Linked DNA regions of Homo sapiens: region 1 is linked to region 2. The links are contacts of gene promoters, found by promoter capture Hi-C in human tissues and cell types (Jung and others, 2019). All regions are on one chromosome and are shown on one strand. The core of a region is centred on a gene start or on the middle of the fragment in contact, and the rest is flanking DNA. Distances in the headings are between cores, read along the strand shown.

What was found. The method cuts DNA at HindIII sites, captures the fragments that hold promoters and counts their contacts. A contact is called where the count stands out against the background at its distance.
Region 1: a contact is called between a fragment that was not itself captured here and the fragment with the promoter of NLRP8 in region 2, in 2 of the 25 tissues and cell types used here (heart right ventricle and liver).

Annotation. Positions count from the first base shown.
Region 1 is chr19:54,523,687-54,527,637 of GRCh38, reverse strand. It overlaps LOC105372460 (a long non-coding RNA gene), which reads left to right and starts at 528. Exons shown (of 4, transcript XR_001754038.3): 1 at 528-724; 2 at 874-1,078. The HindIII fragment of the contact is 4,451 bases long and covers 1-3,951 here.
Region 2 is chr19:55,945,932-55,950,016 of GRCh38, reverse strand. It overlaps NLRP8 (NLR family pyrin domain containing 8), which reads right to left and starts at 2,185. Exons shown (of 10, transcript NM_001433706.1): 1 at 1,748-2,185. The coding sequence starts at 2,114. The HindIII fragment of the contact is 14,722 bases long and covers 1-4,085 here.

The sequences.
Region 1 (3,951 bases), core at 974-3,473, 1.4 Mb after region 2:
CTAGATACAAGTACCACAGGTCTTTGTGGTTTTCACTGTTAATCTGTGTCATTAAAAGTGATCACACATATCAGCTCTACTTTCTACTGTTTTGTCCATTTCAATCACTGTCAAAAGGATGGAGTTTAAAGATATATCATTACTCAGCTCTTCGTTTTGGAAGATAAGCAATTACTGCCGTTCACTTAACAATAATATAAACATGCAGAAATATCATAGTATTTTCTTTGGTATGAAGAATAGAGAAGAAATTTGTTTGTGTTCTCTAGGAACAAATTTCTGGGATGATGGCAGTGGAGTCATCAGACACCTGGCTGAGGAGGAGTTTGGATATGAGCAGAGGCAGGAGCCATCGCATGGAAGATCTCGCGAGAGGACGGGTCTTCCGCGTGCCTTGAAGATCTCGGGAGAGGACGGGTCTCTTGAGTTGGGTGAAGATCTCGCGATAGGAGGGAATCTCATGCTAGGGGTGCAGATTTCGCGAGAGGACGGGTCTCCTGCATGGGGTGATGATCTCGCGAGAGGACCTGTCTCCTACGTGGGGTGAAGATCTCGGGAGAGGCCGGATCTCCCGCGCGGGGCGAAGATCTCGGGAGAGGACGGGTCTCCTGCGCAGGGTGAAGATCTCACGAGAGGATGGGTCTCCTGTGTGGGGGGAAGAGCCACACACAGAGAAGCCCAGGACCCTGTGCATAGAGCAACAGCTTTCAGATGATGAGCTTTGGTTAGAATAGTTTCCTAAAATTTGAGTCTATGGGATATTTTGCAAGTTGTGGTTGACATCGATATCATCAGACAAGTGTCCTTCGCTGACAGTACCAAAAGCCCTCTAAGTAATGTGTGAAAAGCAATTTCCTTACTCTTCACTTGCAGATTAACGGAGGCATTCATCAATGCACAGAGGCAAAACCAGTGTCCTCAGAGTATCCAGACCCTGAAAGCTGAAAGAAGGAATGAAAAACCTGCCTCTGGAAGTGGCATTGGCAAGGTATGACCACAAGGAAAGCAGCATGAGATGCTCCTTCCCTGCTTCGACCATGCTGAGACCTGACTCATTGCTGGACTAGAGAAAATCAAGGTGGGTGTTGGAAGATGGGAACACTCTAGCGATTGCGAGTGAGTAGCTGCTTCCTTGGTCCTAGAAAGCTTAGGACTGTTTTTTTGTTTTTGTTTTTGTTTTTTTTTGAGACGGAGTCTCACTCTGTCCCCCAGGCTGGAGTGCAGTGGCGCGATCTCGGCTCACTGCAAGCTCCGCCTCCCGGGTTCACACCATTCTCCTGCCTCAGCCTTCTGAGTAGCTGGGACTACAGGCGCCCACCACCACGCCCGGCAAATTTGTGTGTGTGAGTGTGTGTGTGTGTATTTTTAGTAGAGACGGGGTTTCACAGTGTAGGACTCTTTGACATTCATGTTTCTCAGTGTTTCACCCAAATAACCCACGCTAAGGAGCAAGATCCAATATTCTCCATAGCAGAATAATTATTTTATCATAGGAATATTTACATTTGTTTTATGCCCTTATTTACATTCTCTGGATGAATACGAGAGATGTTAACAAAGAATCACTCCAGATCAAAACATCCATAATTGTATTGACCAGTATTAAACAGTGAAGAGAGAAAACACAATTCCTTGCCAAGATCAATTGATTGAGAGTCTTGTCTTCAGCTTTGGTTTCTCCAAGAATTTTCAGCACCTACCCTCCCAGAGTATCTTGTTTTCTCAACTGGACTGCTCATTTCTATCATTACTTTTGAAACAAGGTCCAAAAGGTGAACAAGATAAGAGCTACTTTCACGTAGGTCAGAGGGGTGAACGGCATCAGAGGCTTCAGAAAATCTGAGGCCGAGGGATGATAAAAGTCCAACTAAATATTTGCAATGACCTAACTAACTTAGTATCTGCCTCATGCACTTCCGTTTCTCGATTAAACCAATTACTTAAACATGAAAAATTAATGCAAAATAATGTCAAGGTTTTATTTGAAATGATTAATTAAAAACACACATCTTTAATGGGAATCTGAATGTTAGCAAGCACGGGTGAAAAGGCCTTTGTGTTGAAGCCAGCGTGGAATTCCTGAGCTGATCCATAGGAGGGCATATGCTCAGGTTACCCATCTGGGTGAATCAAGCTTCCTGTTGCTTTACGTTATTCTAGACACCCCATTCTCCCAATCCTCCAATACTTGTGAGCTCTCCATGCTGAAAACAGTGTGAAGGTCCTATTAGTTTGGACACAGGCTTCACCCTGTGTGTCTAGAATTCTTGATCCACATCCACCCATAGAATAAAGGGACCGTTTATATCTCTGCCATGAATAGATTTCCCTGCCTGCTTCAAACCTGTCGACACAACCCAAGGGCAAGCTTTTCATTTGCAGTGATTCAATTCTCACCTGAGAAGATCTGTGAAATTGAGGCTTTGCCCAGGAGAGGTGGCTGCTTCCAGCCCTGGCCCATTGAACCCAACGCATTATGTTCATCCTTCATTTTTCCTTCTGACTGCCTGGAATAGGGACAATGACAGTGACCATGACAGGGGATGTGGGTGATGACCTCCAAAGTCTATCTCCTATCATCAAAATTCTGGCCTCACTTCTGGAGCCTCTGGAGAGGTTGACAGGCTGGCACTTCCACATGCAAACCTTTCTGTGTGTCTCCTATCTGAGCTGAAGATTCCTCATCTCTGATTCCACCTTTCCTTCACGGCAGGGCTGGAATATGTGGTATTCTCATCTGTACATAAATAGACACAATGGTTTATAACCCTTACTCGAAGCATACGTTCATTCAGATACTTCACTCCAAGTTTTAGATAAATATTATTACTTTATAAATACCCACGTACACTCAGGACAGTATGTTGTCTTATTTACAGCAAAAGAAATGGATCCTTCACATTTCCCTCACCCCAGGACTTTTGCACGTGCTCTTCTCTCTATCTCAACTTCCATCCCTCTCCCCACACCTCATATCACTGTTGAGTGCAAATATCACCAGCTCCAAGATTTCTTTCCTTACCACCGTAGGCAAGTAGGCTTCTGTATTAGTTTTCATGGTTTAGTTTTAACATTTTCTTTCATAAAATTTATCATTGATGTCATTTATTTCTATTTCTCCACTTTTTCATTGTTTCTCCTCCAGTTCCCACCATGAAGACACTCTTTGTGTCTACAATATACCGTAATTGTACGAAGTGAGGAGCCCCGTACTTGGCACACATTTAGTGATTAGTAACTATACGGGGAATTACCGAATGACTCAATGAAGAATGAATAAATGAATGAATGAATGATTTGGGGCCAGGAAGTGTCTCACACCTGTAATGCCAGCACTTTGGGAGGCCAAGGTGGGCAGATCACTTGACATCACGTGTTTGAAACCAGCCTGGCCAAAACCAGCTGGTGAAACCCCATCTCTACTAAAAATACAAAAATTAGCTGGGCATGATGGCGCATGCCTGTAGTCCCAGCTGCTTGGGAGGCTGAGGCAGGAGAATCACTTGAACCCAGGAGGCAGAGGTTGCAGTGAGCCAAGATCTCACCATTGCATTCCAGCCTGGATGCCAAGAGTGAAACTCTCTCTCAAAAAAAAATTAAATTAAAAAAATACAAAAATTAGCCAGGTGTGGTGGTGCACACCTGTAGTCCCAGCTACTCGGGAGGCTGAGGCATGAGAATCACTTGAACCCAGGATGTGCAGGTTGCAGTGAGAGAAGATCGCTCCACAGATCTGGGTGACAGAGCAAGACTCTGTCTCAAAAAAAAAAAAAAGGTGGGGGGGATGTGGAAGGATTCTTTCCTAGAACCTACAGAGTGGGCATGGCCTCCTTGACACCTTACTTGCAAACTTCTACTTCCCAGGATTATAAGTGAATTGATTTTGTGGTGTTAAGCCACGCAGATTGCAGGACTTTGTTAGGACAGCCCCAGGAAGCTAACACAGGTGGC
Region 2 (4,085 bases), core at 936-3,435:
GGTGACTCTCTCTCCTTTTCACATGATGAGCTATTTCCTCCTGTGTTAGGTCTCAACCTTAGCATCATTTCCTCAAAGAGGACTTCCTAGGCTGCCTTATCAAAAGAAAGTCCCTTTTCACAATCAATTACTCTCTAGCCATCTAATATTTGAGCACCTATGACATGCTAGGTGCTGAGCCAGCTGTTGGGGTGCCAGTGGCTAAGGAGACGTAAGGCACCCACTCTCCTGTGTTTATGTTTAAAACTGTGGAGCTGACGTTTTCTCCATTCTTACCAATGAGACTGACTACTTGTAATATCAGCTATTGGGAGAGGCGGGTTCACAGCTCCTATCATGTTTCTGGATTGGTGTATTTTCCTTTAATACAGTAGTCCCCCCTTCTCTGCAGGGTCTATGTTCCAAGATCCCCGGTGGATATCTGAAACTGTGGATAGTACTGAACAATGTGGATACTGATTTTTTTAAATACATATCTAGGCCGGGTGTGGTGGCTCACACCTGTAATTCCAGCACTTTGGGAGGCCGAGGCAGGCAAATCACCTAAGGTCAGGAGTTTGAAACCAGCCTGGCCAACATGGTGAAACCCCGTTTCTACTAAAAATACAAAAATTAGCTGGGTGTGGTGGTGCGCACCTGTAATCCCAGCTACTGGGGAGGCTGAGGCATGAGAATTGCTTGAACCTGGGAGGTGGAGGTTGCAGTGAGCTGAGATCACACCACTGCACTCCAGCCTGTGTGACAGAATGAAGACTCCATCTCAAAATAGAAAAAAAATACATACCGATCTATGATAAAAGTTTAAATTATAAATTAGGTACAGTAAGAGATTAACAATAATAATGAAATAGAACAATTATAATACTATACTATCATAAACGGTATGTAAATGTGGTCTCTCTCTGTCTCAGAATATCTCAGTGTACTGTACTCATCTATTTTTGGCCATGATCAACCCAAACTTCAGAAAGCAAAACCTTGGATAAGGGGATGACTGTAGTCCAGCTCTGCTTTATTCATATTGAAGATGAGGTTTTGGATTACAATATCCTCCAGTGGGATTCACCCTTTGTTGCTGCGAAATGGCCTTTTAAAGTGTTTAACCTTCTTGCTTTAAATATAGCACTCCTGACATCACCATAGCTATACCAGCTGTCTTCTGCTGTTTCCATAGCATATGCTTTTCCACTATTTTACTTCCTACTTCTCTATGACTTCATTTAACGTTCACCTCATATAAGCAGTATTCAGTTAAGTTTTTAAAAAATAGGCCCATATGGGCTGGGCACAGTGGCTCACACCTGCAATCCCAGCACTTTGGGGGGCCAAGGCAGGCGGATTACCTGAGGTCAGTAGTTCGAGACCAGCCTGGCCAACATGGTGAAACCCCGTCTCTACTAAAAATAAAAAAAAATTACCCAGGCATGGTGGTGGGTGCCTGTAATCCCAGCTACTCAGGAGGCTGAGGCAGGAGAATCACCTGTACCTGGGAGGCGGGGTTTGCAGTGAGCCGAGATTGTGCCATTGCACTTCAGCCTGGGCAAGAAGAGCGAAACCCCATCTCAGAAAAATAAAATTAAAAAAATGCCCGTATGACAGTCTTTGCCTTTGGGTTAGATCCATTATCTTCCTCCACTGTTTGCTTTCTTGCTCAGAAGGCCAATAAGTGATAGGGGTGGTGACTAGAGTAGTTTAGCTGCCCAGCAGCCAAGCCCACCCCCACTTTATCCACCAGATCAACACTCACCATTTATCTCTCTGCGGACTACAACACACATTTTATCACAGTTCATAATGGCAAAGATGTTCGAAGTCACATCCCAAGCGCGTCGTCCAGGGAAACGCTCTATCAAGAGATGAACCACCTCTGCCCAGCTGGCTGTCTCGACCTGGTCCCAGGTGATGGGCATGGTGCCAGTACTGAGCTCAGTCAGTAAGAGCTGCTTGAACCGTTGTAGCTCCTCATGGCTCACGTTTCTCATGTACAGCATGACCCCATTTTCACATGGGGAGCCGGGGTAGCAAGAGAATGTCCAGGGCGGAATATGAGAACTGTGAGTGGAGGAGGATGAAAAGGGAATGGGGGTGTCAGAGGGTGGATTCACGTCACTCATCTTTAGTCAAGGCAGAGAACACCTCAGTGTCCACGATAAAGACAACCGATTGGAAGAGAGAAACACGAGACCTGCAGAGACATAAAACAATAAAACAAGAAGATGAAAACACTACCCAAGAAAACAGATTCGTGTAATGCTTACTTGGCAGGTATTCTGCGTGCCGGGTACTCCCTTTACCTCCTTTCCTCAAAGATTCTCTGCCCTATGGAAAAACTGAAGATGCATGGAATGTTTGGGATTAGTCCATTAGACTAATGGATTGTTTGTAGTTTCTATTCTCCATGACTTCTTTTGGGGAAGAGGCAAGCAAAATATCAAAGCCTTCACAAAAGGTTTAGCGAAAAGAAAAATTAGAAGCAGGTAAAATAATTCAGTGAAGCTAAAATCTAGAAAATATATGGTTGGTTAGAAGGCTCCATTAGATTAAAAGTGATCTCAAATTCAACAAAGTTTTTATTCTTAAAAAAATGGATCATGTATTAGAGAGATGCAAATCAAAACCACAACGAGATGTCATCTCACACCAGTCAGAATGGTGATTATTAAAAAGTCAAGCAATAACAGATGCTGTATTCTTAAAAAATGGATCATGTATTAGAGAGATGCAAATCAAAACCACAACGAGATGTCATCTCACACCAGTCAGAATGGTGATTATTAAAAAGTCAAGCAATAACAGATGCTGGTGAAGTCGCAGAGAAAAAGGAACACTTATACTCTGTGTGTGGGAGTGTAAATTAGTTCAACTACTCTGGATGACAGTGGGGCAACTCCTCAAAGACCTAAAAAGAGAACTACCATTCAACTCAGCAATCCCATTACTGGATATATATCCAAAGGAATATAAATCATTCTATTATAAAGACACATTCCTGTGTATGTTCATTGCAGCACTACTCACAATAGCAAAGTCATGGAATCAACCTAAATGCCCATCAGTGATAGACCGGATAAAAAAATGTGGTACATAAACACCATGGAATACTATGCAGCCATAAAAAAGAATGAGATCATGACCTTTGCAGGAACATAGATGGAGCCAGAGACCATTATTCCTTAGCAAACTAACACAGGAACAGGAAACCAAATACCACATGTGCTCATTTATAAGTGGTAGCTAAACGATGAGAACACATGGACACATAGAGGGAACACCACACACTGGAGTCTGCTAGAGGCTGGAGGGTGGGAGGAGGGAGAAGATCAGGAAAAATAACTAATGGGTACTGGGATTAATACCTGGGTGATGAGATAACCTGTACAACAAACCCACCCCCATAACACGTTTGCCTATATAACAAACCTGCACATGTACCCCTGTATCTAAAAGAAATGTAAAAAAGAAATAAAATAAAAAGGATCATGGGTGTATTTTTGTCCCCCCTGCCCCAACTTCCAATAATAGTTTATTTATTTATTATTTATTTATTTACTTAGAGACAGAGTCTCACTCTGTTTCCCAGGCTGGAGTGCAGTGGTGTGATCTCGGCTCACTGCAACCTCCACTTCCCTGGTTCAAGCAATTCCCTTGCCTCAGCCCCCTGAGTAGCTGGGATTACAGGCACCTGCCACCATGCCTGGCTAATTTTTTTGTATTTTTAGTATAGATGGGGTTTCACTATGTTGGCCAGGCTGGTCTCAAACTCCTGACCTCAAGTGATCCACCCACCTCAGCCTCCCAAAGTGCTGGGATTACAGGTGTGAGCCACTGCACCTGGCCAATAGCTTCTTCTTTAACACTTCTCCCTCTTATAACTTATGTGACACCCAAACATCTGGATAAACTTGTTTAATTGACTCAGTCCTCCCTTGGGTCCAGAGTAGCTGGGCTTGGTCCCAGGACAAAGGTGATATGCTCCTGGGTGGCTGACTCTTGCTAGTGCTCCTTCCGTCCAGTGGGTGGCGCTGCATGGAGGAGCCTAACACAGTCACACATTTTCTACCTCTACTTATTCCATGACCATTGCT